5 separate regions of the Homo sapiens genome follow, and regions 1, 2, 3 and 5 are each linked to region 4. The links are contacts of gene promoters, found by promoter capture Hi-C in human tissues and cell types (Jung and others, 2019). All regions are on one chromosome and are shown on one strand. The core of a region is centred on a gene start or on the middle of the fragment in contact, and the rest is flanking DNA. Distances in the headings are between cores, read along the strand shown.

The links. The method cuts DNA at HindIII sites, captures the fragments that hold promoters and counts their contacts. A contact is called where the count stands out against the background at its distance.
Region 1: a contact is called between a fragment that was not itself captured here and the fragment with the promoter of NOM1 in region 4, in 1 of the 25 tissues and cell types used here (lymphoblastoid cells).
Region 2: a contact is called between a fragment that was not itself captured here and the fragment with the promoter of NOM1 in region 4, in 1 of the 25 tissues and cell types used here (dorsolateral prefrontal cortex).
Region 3: a fragment that was not itself captured here is called in contact with the fragment with the promoter of NOM1 in region 4 in 1 of the 25 tissues and cell types used here (spleen).
Region 5: a contact is called between a fragment that was not itself captured here and the fragment with the promoter of NOM1 in region 4, in 1 of the 25 tissues and cell types used here (lymphoblastoid cells).

Annotation. Positions count from the first base shown.
Region 1 is chr7:157,330,606-157,333,305 of GRCh38, reverse strand. No RefSeq gene overlaps it. Among named protein-coding and RNA genes, the nearest start is that of DNAJB6, 5.0 kb to the left of the region's middle. The HindIII fragment of the contact is 3,436 bases long and covers 1-2,700 here.
Region 2 is chr7:157,233,179-157,235,878 of GRCh38, reverse strand. All of the region lies in intron 18 of UBE3C (ubiquitin protein ligase E3C), which reads right to left. Among named protein-coding and RNA genes, the nearest start is that of UBE3C, 96 kb to the right of the region's middle. The HindIII fragment of the contact is 7,981 bases long and covers 1-2,700 here.
Region 3 is chr7:157,358,397-157,361,096 of GRCh38, reverse strand. It overlaps DNAJB6 (DnaJ heat shock protein family (Hsp40) member B6), which reads right to left. Exons shown (of 10, transcript NM_058246.4): 2 at 2,460-2,550. The coding sequence starts at 2,524. Among named protein-coding and RNA genes, the nearest start is that of DNAJB6, 23 kb to the right of the region's middle. The HindIII fragment of the contact is 9,556 bases long and covers 1-2,700 here.
Region 4 is chr7:156,948,418-156,951,117 of GRCh38, reverse strand. It overlaps NOM1 (nucleolar protein with MIF4G domain 1), which reads right to left and starts at 1,406. Exons shown (of 11, transcript NM_138400.2): 1 at 394-1,406. The coding sequence starts at 1,380. RefSeq lists silencers at 986-1,035, 1,316-1,665 and an enhancer at 1,726-2,254. The HindIII fragment of the contact is 15,987 bases long and covers 1-2,700 here.
Region 5 is chr7:157,257,139-157,259,838 of GRCh38, reverse strand. All of the region lies in intron 22 of UBE3C (ubiquitin protein ligase E3C), which reads right to left. Among named protein-coding and RNA genes, the nearest start is that of DNAJB6, 79 kb to the left of the region's middle. The HindIII fragment of the contact is 8,398 bases long and covers 1-2,700 here.

The DNA.
Region 1 (2,700 bases), core at 57-2,556, 380 kb before region 4:
CCAGCTACACAGGAGGCTGAGGCAGGAGAATTGCTTGAACCCGGGAGGCAGAGGTTGCAGTGAGCAGAGATCGTGCTTCTGCACTCTAGCCTGGGTGACAAAGCAAGACTCTGTCTCAGGAAAAAAAAAGAAAAAAGAAAATTTTCTGGGCATGGTGGCACACACCTATAGTCCCAGCTACTCAAGAGGCTGAGTAAGAGGACCACTTGAGCACTTGAGACTAGGAGGTCGAGGCTGCAGTGAACAGTGATCATGTCATGGCACTGCAGCCTGGGTGCCAGAGCAAGACTCTGTCTCTAAACAAATACATACATAATTTTTAAGAAGCATGTCAATACAATAAATTTTATCATGAAGAAAAGCAACCAGTACAAAACAAGGTCCCCATCCTGATGGACTTCACATAGCAGTTAGGGAGGACAGGTATAAACACCTTGGAGATTAAATGGTAATATTTAATTAACTCTTTTGAAACAACGAGGTCTTTCAATGACAAGGATTTATCCCAGAAAAGATTTAAGTAGGAGTGAAAAGTCTTTGGAGACCGAGTGCGGTGGCTCACGCCTATAATCCCAGCACTTTGGGAGGCCGAGGTGGGCAGATCCCCTGAGGTCAGGAGTTCAAGACCAGCCTGGTCAACATGGTGAAACCTGGTCTCTACTAAAAATACAAAAAGTAGCCGGGCGTGGTGGCGCATACCTGTAATCCCAGCTACTCGGGAGGCCGAGGCAGGAGGATCACTTGAACCTAGGAGGTGGAGGTCACGGTGAGATGATATCGTGCCATTGCACTCCAGCCTGGGCAACAGGAGTGAAACTCCGTCTCAAAAAATAAAAGAAAGAAAGGAGGAGCGTGGAGAATGTGGATGGATTTGGGGTAATGGCTTGCAGGGAGCCCCGGGGGTTGAGGGCAGCTGAAATGTTCAAGGCCAAAAGTGGACCGAGAAGCTTCATGGGCCAGCAAGCACAGAGGCTGCAGGGCAGAGGGAAGAGGACCCAGTGCTGACTGGGGCCAGACTGGAGGCTGAGTGGCCACAGGGGTGCGAGGCATGGTTCCCTGTGGTGCCCACATCCCCTGATGCCCAATAAAACTTTAGGGCTGATGACGCACTGACTTTACCCACATCAACAAGCCTCGGTTTCCCTATCTGTAAAATAGGAAGAAGGATAGCTACGGATAGCTACTATACTGGTATCAGAAATAAACAGGGCAGTGTATGAGAACTGTGGTATCTCACACACATACTTATTTAATGTTTCTCTAATGAAATCCCTGTGCTCAAACCCTCAGAGGAAAGTATGTAAATCAAAACTGTCAAAGAATACCTAAAATTTGATTACCTTTGAAGAGTCCTATATATAAGTGCTTTACTTGTTACGTTTCCTGCCATCAAAATAAATTACCCACTGCTCATTTTAGAAATGTTAGCTTTAAAAAAGACAAATATTGGCTTAATCCCTGATTATTCAAACACACTAAACAGGAACTTTCTCATGCCTATAATCCCAGCACTTTGGAAAACTGAGGTGGGAGGATGACTTGAGGCCAGGAGTAAGGAACTTTCACTGTATTACAGAATTATTCACATATATTCTTAGAAATCACTTTATCTTATCATCATCAAGATATATTGCTAAGTAAGAAAAAAAGGCAAGGTTTAAAACATTAGAACAGTGTGTATAGCAAGGAGAGAAAGAAAAAGAACATGCATTTGTATAAGAAACTCTGCAATTACACTTAAGACATTGGGGAGTGGGGCAGAAAATACAGAGAAGAGGGGGCTGAGGGTAAAATGATGTTCACTGAATATGTTTTAAACTATGTGAATATATTGCCTGTTAAACATATATATGCTTAATAAAAAATATCAAAATGGTATATATGTTTAATATGTTTTTAAAATATATATGTTTAATAAAAATATCAAAATATATATGTTTAATAGACATAAACGTATATATATACACACACGTTTTTTTTTTGAGACGAAGTCTTGCTCTATCGCCCAGGCTGGAGGGAAGTGGCATGATCTTAGCTCACTGCAACCTCCGCCTCCACGGTTCAAGTGGGTATAAGCAATACTGCCACCTCAGCCTCCCAAATAGCTGGGATTACAAGCATGCACCACCAAGCCCGGCTCATTTTTGTATTTTCAGTAGAGGTGGGGTTTAACCATGTTGGTCAGGCTGTTCTCAAACTCCTGACCTCAAGTGATCCACCTGCCTCAGCCTCCCAAAGTGCTGGGATTACAGGCATGAGCTACCACACTCAGCCTATTCTATTCTTTTAACTTTTCTTTAGCTTTAAAATTGTTTTGGCAGGTTCAGTGACTCATGCCAGCAATTTGGGAGGCCAAAGTGGGCGGATCACAAGGTCAGGAGTTTGAGACCAGTCTGGCCAACATAGTGAAACCCCATCTCTACTAAAAATACAAAAAATTAGCCAGGTGTGGTGGTGTGCACCTGTAATCCCAGCTACTCGGGAGGCTGAAGCAGGAGAATCTTGTGAACCCGGGCAGCGGAGGTTGCAGTGAGCCGAGATTGCGCCATTGCACTCCAGCCCGGGTGACAGTGTGACACTGTCTCAAAAAAAAAAAAAATTGTTTTTAGGCAGGGTGCAGTGGCTCATGCCTATAATCCCAGCACTTTGGGAGGCCAAGGTGGGTGGATCATTTGAGGTCAGGAGTTCGTGACCAGCCTG
Region 2 (2,700 bases), core at 40-2,539, 280 kb before region 4:
CAATGGTTAGCACATTAGCACAAAGTTTAACTCTGTAATCAGATGGTCATCAGATATGTTTTGGAAGTTAGTAACCCCTTAGGAATTTCCACACAGAGAGTAATGTAAGGGAAGTCTTAAATATGTGAAACTAAGTTAACTACCATCCTCAAATTACTCTTAGTTTTGTTATTGGTCTAAACTTTATTATTTTAAACAGCCTTAATAAGATATAACTTACATAAACTTCATTTGTGGGAGAAAGGTTTAAAATCACAAATTCTCTTCCCTGGATCTTCTGTAAATATATACATATTCCAAAGTACAGAACTGTACAATGACATCATCTTCAGAATAATTTCAATTATAAGCAATATGTCAATAAACAGAGGAGAAATGAGTTTATCCTCACCAGACTTACATAACTATTAGCTTCTACATTAATCAAGACTGGATGATTTATACATTCAGGAAGAAAAAGTAATATATAATCTTAAGATTTAATTCATGCAGGTAAAATTATTGCTCTATCTTCTGTGACTGTACTGTGTAAAAACCACCAAGTTTAGAGTATTTCAGGTTAGTCTAGCAGAACACTCACCTTTATTTTCACATATATATTAAGTTAGAAGGTTCTTGGGCTCACTTTAACAGAAAGAACTAAGGGATTTCATTGTAAAGATTTTCTTTTCTTTTCTTTTTTTTAATTTGAGACAGAGTTTTGCTCTTGTTGCCAGGCTGGAGTGCAATGGTAAGGCCTTGGCTCACCACAACCTCCGCCTCCAGGTTCAAGCCATTATCCTGCCTCAGCCTCTGGAGTAGCTGGGATTAAAGGCATGCACCACCACGCCCAGCTAATTTTGTATTTTTAGTAGAGACGGGGTTTCTCCATGTTGGTCAGGCTGGTCTCGAGCTCCCGACCTCAGGTGATCCGCCTGCCTAGGCCTCCCAAAGTGCTGGGATTACAGGTGTGATCCACCATGCCTGGCCCATTGTAAAGATTTTCATACAATGAATTATGAAATGTACATCCTCCAGGGGAAGCTGAAACTGAGAAGTAGGCTGTGTGACCATCAACAAAGAGAGAGATGCTATCTGAAAACTGCCACCAAAGCCAACTCACAAATCAACATCAAATCAACACCTGAAATCTGCCACCTGAAATACGGTGAGCCTGAAGATGATGATATAACACATACCGTTACGGTAGTGAAGTCAGGTTGGAGCCCTTTCTCAAACCTGAAGAGCACTTAAAATCACTGGGAGTCTGAACAAAGAAATAACTGGGGCTACGACAATGCATTTCAAAGAGACACAAATAAAGGGGAATTATTCTATATCCAGGATAGACTGATTCCTTCCCATTATCCCTGCTTAACAAGGCTGCGGTTCTACTCCCATCTGCTATTAATAAATCCACACACCCCATACTGCAAAGCTACAGTAATCAAGACCATACTGCATAAGGGCAGACCCAGAGTGTTACGTGTACGGTCAACTAATTTTCAACAAGGGTGCCAAGAATATGAGGATGCCTAACTCATACAATCTACAAAAATTAACTCAAAAAGGATCAAAGACCAAAATGTAAGAGCTAAAACTACAACACCGTCAGAAGAACATACAGGTGTAAATCTTTGTGATTTTAGGTCAGGGAATGGATAAGACATCAAAAACAAGCAATAAAAGAAAAAAACACGTTAGACTTCAAAATTAAAAATGTTCGTTCTTCAAAGGAAATCATCATGAAAGTGAAGAGACAATCCAGAGAAGAAAATACTTGCAAATCATTTATCTGACAATGTTTCAGCTTCCTCAGAGAATATAAATTTCATAATTCATTGCATTGCAGGGACTTAATAATAAAAGACAATCCAATAAAAAAATAGGCAATGGACTTGAATAGACATTTCTCAACAGAAGTCATGAAGCACATGAAAAGATGGTCAACATTATTAGTCACCAGGGAAATTAAAACCACAATGAGATACCAATTCCCACCCACTAGAATGGCTGTAATGAAAAAGACAACACTAAGTAAGTGCTGACAACGATGTGGAGTCACTGAAACCTTCACAAATTGTTGGTGGGATTGTAAAAGGTTGCAGACACTTTGACGTGGAGTACTGTATGACCTAACACTTCCATGTCTAGGTATATGCCCAAGAAAAACAAAAAACCTATGTCCAAATAACAGCTTGTATACAAATGTTTGCAGTAACATTATTCACAATAGCTAAAAGGTGGAAACAATGCAAATTCCCAATGCAAATGCACCACTGCACTCCAGCCTGGGATGAGTAAGTAAACAAAATGCGGTGACTGGGTGTGGTGGCTCACACCTGTAATTCTAGCCTTTTGAGAGGTTGAGGCAGGAGGATTGCTTGACGCCAGGAGTTCAAGACCAGCCTGGGCAACATGGCAAGACCCTGCCTCTACGATAAAATGAAATAATTAGCCAGGTGTGGTAGCAAGCAACGGTGGTCCCAGCTACTCGGGAGGCTGAAAGCAGGAGGCCTCCTTAAGCGCAGGACTGAGCCGTGTTTGTAGCAGTGCACTCCAGCCTAGGTGGCAGAGAAAGACCTGTTTCAAAATGAAAAAAACAAACCCCAAAGTGTGGTATATCCATACAATGAAATAAGATTTGGCCCTTCAAATGAGTGAAGCTCTGACATACTACGACATGAATGAAACCTGAAAACATGCTAAATCAAAGAAGCC
Region 3 (2,700 bases), core at 140-2,639, 410 kb before region 4:
ACAAAAGACAAAAGAGAAAAAATGATTAGTGTGCAGTACTACCTATCATCTAGTGTTCATATGAAAACTTGGCAATGGATGAGAATGCAGGACAAGATTCAACTGTGTATGCCCCAGTCATACACTACTAAAATATTTAAAAATCAAGGTGTAATACAACACGATATGCAAGTGTAAACAGTGCCAAATGACTTTGAATGTTGACCTTCAGATCTGTTGGACCTGCACACCAGTACTTCAGCACCAAGGAAGGAAGGCCCATGGTGTGTGACTCAAACCCAGGAAGAGTCTGGTATCTCAGGAGAGATGCAGAACAGGTGGCAGCCACAGACCTTTAAGTCTTCAATCAAAAACTGTCAACACACAAAGCCAAGGGTACACAAGATAGACTAACAGCACGCCCCCATAGCTATCATTCTGCTCATTTTTAAAAGTCAGCATTTATACAACTGTACACTCAGGAGTGCAGGAAATCTCACTGCTTTTAAAGGTAACAGCCTTTTCTAAATTCCTACTTCAACGTCATGCTAGAGACACTCAGCAACCTGTATGTTCTCAGAAACAACTAAAACCAATCTACTCTCTAATGACCTCTATCATAAAGGTATGTAATTTCCATCATTACTGAAAGCACTGTACACATATTATGCTTATCCATTGATAAGGGCTGGCTATGTCCCCACCCAAATCTCAACTTGAGTTGTAACTCCCAGAACTCCCAGGTGTTATGCGAGGGACCCAGGGGGAGGTAACTGAATCATGGGGACTAGTCTTTCCCGTGCTATTCTCCTGATAATAAGCCTCACAAGACCTGATGGGTTTATAAGGGGTTTCCGCTTTTGCTTCTTCCTCATTCTCTTGCTGTCGCCATGTAAGAAGTGTCTTTCGCCCTCCTCCATGATTGTAAGACCTCCCCAGCCATGTGGAACTGTAAGTCAAATTAAACCTCCTTTTCTTCCCAGTCTCAGGTACGTCTTTATCAGCAGCGTAAAAACAGACTAATACATCCATTAACTTATTCGAGAGGAGTAAGGTATTCCCAACTGTCTTCGTCTTATAATCTGTCAAGTATGCCTGGCTGTTAACATTACTGATAAGAATAGTGTGAGCCTCAAGTGTGCAGCACAGGCTTCCTCACAGTGTGGGAAACCTCACTCTACTAGTGACAGCATCAGGGCCTGCCTGACCTCTCCTCAGTAGACTGCTTCTACTAGGTTCCTCGGCAGAGGTTTCAAATAACCTTCAGGCAACGTCAGCCATCCTGACTTGGCTTTTTTGAGACAGGGTCTCGGCTTGGTTGCCCAAGCTGGAACACAGTGGCACGAACATAGCTCACTGCAGCCTCAACCTCCTGGGCTCAAGCAATTCTCCTGCCTCAGCCTCTGGAGCAGTTGGGACTACAGGCATGTGCCACCACACCCAACTATTTTTTTTTGGTCAAGACAGTATCTCATTTTGTTGCCCAGGCTGGTCTCAAACCCCTGGGCTCCAGTGACCCTCCCACCTAGGCCTCTCGAAGTGCTAGGATTAGAGGTGTGAGCCACTTGCCTGGCCGTAATTTAGCATTTTAAAATGAACTATCTCAGCTACACACAGTGGCTCACAAATATAACCGCAGCAATCTGGGAGGCCAAGGCAAGAGAATCGCTTGAGCCCAGGAGTTTGAGACCAGCCTGAGCAACATATTGAGACTCTGTATTTTTATTAAAATTTAAAAATTAAGCAAAATGAACTATTTGGCCCCCAAAAAAGTTAATTCTATCTTCAGACCCACTAAGTCTAGCAGTATAGACACTCCATTATTTATTAACAATTTTTTTAAGTTGGTTCCAACTATTCCAGGCTAACTGCTCTCTAGCTATGTTAAAATCTAACAATCTGTTTCATGACGTCTTTGCTGTATACTCTACATTCACAGTTAACACCTCATTAATTAAACAGACTAAGGTTACCGTGAGAGCCTTCTGTGGCTGAACTGCCCTCCTCACAATGGCCAGGCCCTGGTCACACAGATGCAGGTACCACAGGCAGCGCTGCAGTTCTCGAACTTTCATATGAATCAGAAGGGACTCCAGTGGCATAGGCCGGAGCCCAACAATCACAACAAGAAAATTTGAGTGCTATGTACTCTGGGCCCCTGCCTTCCAAAGGGGCACTCAAGAATGCCAAGTCAGCTCCATTTTCAAAGTCCAATGTAAAAGATGTTTGGGATTATCTCACATCCTCAGTGAAACAATCATCAACTTCAGATATAAACCAAGTGACTGACTAATGAAGAGCAAAGCCCAGGCCTAGACTGCAAATGCTCGTTAACTGCTCTGTCAAATTAAACTATGTGGCATTCAAAGACTGGTATACTACATTAAAAGCCATTTTCATAGGCAATAGAAGAAGTTATACTACTCAATTACCAATGTACCACTGTGAAAATGCATTACCACAGAAATAAAACTACTTACGCCTTTTTAATATCCTCGGGTGAGGCATGTCTCTGCACGCCTAGAACTTCATAGTAATCCACCATGTTTTACGAGATTGTTGGAATGGGTCCTGCAAGTAAAAACAGGTGGTCAGTGATGAGGCTGCTGGGGATGGGCAAATCACGGTGGTGGGATGGGTCTGGAGAGGGAGGAAGGGGTGGTGTCACCTTAGCACCTACTGGCCTACAGAGGGAACTTCCACTAGAGCTAACCACTAGCC
Region 4 (2,700 bases), core at 157-2,656:
TGTAAATTAGCTTCGAGTTTTAGAAAATTCACTCTAAAAGTCGGGCACGGCAGATGTCCTCGGATACTCGAAAGAGGCCTTAACAGATGAGGTAGGGTTAACAGGTTTAGAGACCTGGGCTGGTAAACACAGAATGAAGATGCTGCACTGTGGAAATGGCCCTTAAGTCCCCGGGATAAAAATGTCTCTATATTGCTTTTCTCCTAAACTTTACATTATGAAAATTTAAAAACATGAAAGAAGACCGAATAGAGTAACGTACTCGATTTACTCACATTCAGCTGAAACCATTATCAAGACACCAAGTCTGTGTCATTTCTGCCTCACGCCCCATTCCCTGTCCCGTTATTTTGAAGGAAATCCCAGAGGGCCTAGAGAGTGTTCACACGATACCTTATCCGTTATGTCACCGTCCTCCGAGGAATTTTCACTCTTTTCTTCATCTTCTGCAAAACGGACTCTCTTCCCCCTCCTTTTCTCCTGCGCTCCCTTTTCCTTTTCTTCCCCCTGTTCCTCTTCTGTATCCTCGTCGTCGTCCTCGCTCTGCGCTTCTGCTTCCTGCGCCTTCTTTTCCTTTTCTACGTCTCCCTCCTCCTCCTCCTCACTTTCGTCCTGGGAGTCACTCTCTAAGTCACTTTCGGGGAGTGTCTGTCCGGCATCTTCCTCCTCCTCACCACTGCTGTCGTACAAGCCGCTATTTTTCCCAGACTCCAGGGCTCCCAGAATATAGTCAAGACCGTCGCGTGCAAAGCTCAGCGGCACGGAGCTGCTGCCGTCCTTCTTTTTGCGCTTGTTCAAACCGAGGCAACGCTCCAGCTTTCGGATCTCTCGGTCCTCCTCCTCGTTCGCCGCTAAAAGCGCCCGTTTCCGGGCAGCGGCGGTGGCGGCTGCGGAGGGTCTGGTCTTTGCGGTGGCGGCCGTGGCCTTGGCCTTGACCCGGGACGGCCGCGGCTTCCTGGGAGGCGAGGGGTCCCGACTAGGGGCTGGGCGGGCGCGCTCCTCCGTGTCCTGCCGGTGACCGCTGGCTTCTTCGGCTCCGCTTCGGCCTCCCAGGCCGGGACCCTGTTCGGGGCCCGCCGTCCTCTGCAGCCGGCGTGCTTTCCGCAGGTGCCGCTTCTCCTTCCTCAGTTCCTTACGGCTTTTTCTCCCTCCCGGGCGAAAGCTCACCGGGGCGCCGCGCCCCTCGCAACCCCCGGGAGCCTCGCCTTCCGAAGTCGCGTGCACGAACTCCTCCACCGCTAGCTTCAGCCTCTTCAGGGCCTTCTCCCCACCGCCAGCAGGACCGCGGCGCGGCCCGCGCCCGCCTCTGCGCTTCATGCGGACCACGCGTCCCTGGGAGCCGCCCGGGCCGGCCTCTCCCGCGCTCCTGGACGCCGCCATCTTTCGAAACGCGTGGACGCACGACTTCCGGCCGAGGCGGGACTTCCGGGGAAGAGGCGGCTGCGCGGGGCGGGCGGGCGGCGCCCCCTGCTGGCCGGAGGGCGACAGCGTGCAGAGCTGCGCGGAGCCGGGTGCGGGGGCAGCCGGGCAGGTGGCGCCCGGGGCAGGCGCGCCCGCGGGTGGGCGCCGCGTGGACGTCAGGCTCGCGATGAGCATGGAGGTGCCTTCACATTTAAAAGGGAAATCCGGCCGGGCGCGGTGGCTCACGCCTGTAATCCCAGCACTTTGGGAGGCCGAGACGGGTGGATCACCTGAAGTCAGGAGTTCGAGACCAGCCTGGCCAACCTGGTGAAACCCACCCACCCCCCTACAAAAATTAGCTGAGCGTGGGGGCACGCGCCTGTAATCCCAGCTACTCGGAGGCTGAGGCAGGAGAATCGCTTGAACCACGGAGGCGGAGGTTGCAGTGAGCCGAAATGGCGCCATTGCACTCCAGCCTGGGCGACAGAGCGAGACTCCAAAGGGAAATCCTCGCGTATGATGGAGGGGAGACTCCGCGCGGGTCGGCGCGGTGCCGGAGGTTGGCGGCGGCGACGACGCTGGGATGCGCGGGCCCCAGGTTCGTGTCCGCCCAGGACCCAGGAATGCGACCTTATTTGGAAATAGGGCCTTTGCAGATGTGGTCGAGAGGAGCCCTCGTGGGTTAGGACTGGCCCCAGAGCCAGCGTTCTCCTGAGAAGCAGGCTCTGGATACGGACCAGGGAGACGCCTGTGGCCCCCAGGCGGCCGAGGACCCCTGAGGAGCCGGCCCTGCCCAGGCTGGGTTTGGACGCTGGGCCCCGAGGGCAGAGCGTTTGAGGTTCCTCTTTACTGGGTAACTTGAACCGGGAAGCGAACGCAGAGGCCGCGCAGTTTGCGTCTGGATTTTTGGGAAGCCCGGAGGCGCAGGAGCAGCCTCGCCTAGCAGTGAGCTGGGGGAAGACGGGGCTGCTGCTGTGGGGTTCTCGGCCTGACCAGGGGCCGCTTCTCTTCCCGGACAGCTTCAGAAGCTTCATTTCCACAGAGTTCCCACCCTTGACTTAATTTAATTTAATTTAATTTTTTTTCTTTTTTTTTTCTTGAGACCGAGTCTCACTCTGTTGCCCAGGCCGGAGTGCAATGGCGGACCAAAGTGCTGGGATTACAGGCAAGCCACCGCGCCCGGCCCGTCCTTGACTTTAAAATGATTTAATTTTTGTCAACTTGTCAGCTCAAAATGGCATCTTGTCATTTAGTTCCTGATGAGAGTGGGTGTCTTTGTTCACTGGCCATTTGTATTTC
Region 5 (2,700 bases), core at 193-2,692, 310 kb before region 4:
AAGATTATCCCTTTAAATGTACAATCCAATGATTTTAGCAAATTTACAGAGTTCCGCAGCGACCCCCACAATCCGGTTTTGGGTCGCTCCACTTCTCCGAAGCTCCCGCTGCCACCTCCAGCCCTGTGCAGCCCCTGACCCGCTCTGTGTCTCTAAATGTGCCTTTCAAAGGACAGTTTATCCGAGTGGAATTACATATAATAATACGTAGTCTTGTGTCTTGCTTCGTTCACTTAGCACAGTGTTTTCAATGTTCATACACAGTGTAGTAGATATCATTTATTCCTTTTAAATTCTAAATATCTCTTAATCTATAGTATTTACTAGCAGTTCATGTACTGTGAATTATTTCGTTTTTGGCCATTATGAAGGCTTGCTCTGAACATTCATAAACACACTGTGTGAAAATATGTTGCCATCTGTACACTCCCAACGGTGGGGCTGCGACATCACATTGACGAACATTCTCAAGATAACTTGCCTGCACCCCTTGAAAATGGGGGTACAGAAGAAAGGAAACTAAAGAGCACGCCAATTAAATGCAACGTGTGGTCCTGGATCAGATTCTATGAAGGACGCGAAGGGACAACCGGCCTAACACCTGAAGAGCTGGTCACAACGTGACTGCGGGGCTCCGCTCCCACTGAGCGCTGACTCAGGTCTGAGTGGGGCCTGAAAATGTTCATTTTTAACATGTGCTCAAGTGATGCTGCAGCTGCTGGTCCCAGGACCACACTGTGCAGCCAGTGGATTCGATAAGGTAAGTGCCGTATGTCAGAGTTCAATTTCCTGACTTGTAATAATTTAATTGTGGCCGTTTCAAAACTGTCTCTGTTCTTAGGAAGTATGTGCTGAGATATTTAGGGAAGACCTCATGTCTTCAACCTATTCTCAAATGATTCAGGAAAGAAATGCATGAAAAGAATGATAAAGTAAATGTAGCAAAATGTTAACAATTGGTCAGTGCGGGTTTAGAAGTTATTTGGTCAATTCTCACAACTTTTCTATACATTTAAAATAGTTTCGAAGTAAAAAGTTAAAGAATAGCTTCACTCAGAAATATAAAAAAATACTTGGGGGGCCGGGCATGATGGCTCATACCTGTAATCCCAGCACTTTGGGAGGCTGAGGTAGGTGGATCACCTGAGGTCAGGAGTTTGAGACCAGCCTGGCCAACATGGTGAAACCCCGTCTCTACTAAAAATACAAAAATTAGCCGGGCATGGAGGCGCACGCCTGTAATCACAGCTATTCAGGAGGCTGAGGCAGGAGAATTGCTTGACCCTGTGAGGCAGAGGTTGCAGTGAGCGGAAATCACGCCATTGCCCTCTGCACTCCAGCCTGGGCGACAGAGTAAAACTCCGTCTCAAAAACAAAGAAACAAACAAAACAGCAACAACAACAACAAAGCAAAAAACCTTAACATTACTTTTTCCCCCTTGAGACAGGATCTCGCTACTACATTGCCCAGGTTGGTCTTAAACTCCTGGGCTCAACTAATCCTCCTACCTCAGCCTCAAGAGTAGCTGGGACTACATGAGTGTGCAGGAACTCTTTCTGATTGAAGGTTATTTGAAGGTGAATGCCAGCTGGGCATGGTGTGGTGGCTCACACCTGTCATCCCAGCACCTTGGGAGGCTGAAGTGAGAGGATTTCTTGGGCCCAGGAGTTGGAGGCCAGCCTGGGGAATACAGTGAAACCCTTCTCTACAAAAAATCAAAATGTCAGCCAGGCATGGTGGTACATGCCTGTAGTCACAGCTACTTGGGAGGCTGAGGTGGGCAGATTGCTTCAGCCTGGGTGGCTGCGGCTGCAGTGAGCCGTGATCACACCACTGCACTCCAGCCTGGGTGATACAGCGAGTGCTCATCTTACTTAAAAAAAAAAAAAAAGAAAAAAGGAAAAAAGAAAGTGAATGCCTATGAAGTTTCATAAGCACAAATCACATACAGTACTTATCTAATTATATATTATTCTATAATATATATACCACTGTGTGCATTTTTAAATGTTAATATGGCTTTATTTTAATTTACAGTGAATACAGGAATTATGATTAGACGTTCCTGAGGCAATTTTTTTTTTTTTTTTTTTTTGGAGACAGGGTCTCACTCTGTCACCCAGGCTGGAGTGCAGTGCAGTGGCGCGATCTCGGCTCACTGCAACCTCCACCTCCTGGGTTCAAGCAATTCTCGTGCCTCAGCCTCCCAAGTAACTGGGATTACAGGCACAGGGCACCATGCCTGGCTCATTTTTCTGTATTTTTAGCAAAGACAGGGTTTCATCATGTTGACCAGGCTGGTCTCGAACTCCTGACTTCAAATGATCCATCTGCCTGAGGCAATTTTAATTGCTAAAAATAAGCCAAATTACGTAAGATCAACATTAATTTCCAGAAGTGGTAAAATAAGGCTCAGTAGCATATACACTCCATCAACATCTCTACGTTGTACCTGCTTCAGTTCAGTAGCAAAAAGCCCAAGATGTGTTACAGATTTATGAGACATTATTAATATTGCAAATAGTCCCTCCAAATGTACGGTTTGTTCACAGGCAATCATAACCACAATGTGTAACTATCATATGACTAGGTTATTGTGAACAAACAAAAAAAGCAACCCCAAATAAAACTAGCACCAAAATATATACATCATAACCAGTACTTAATTAAAAATCTAGCTGAAGATAAAAACAAAAGTG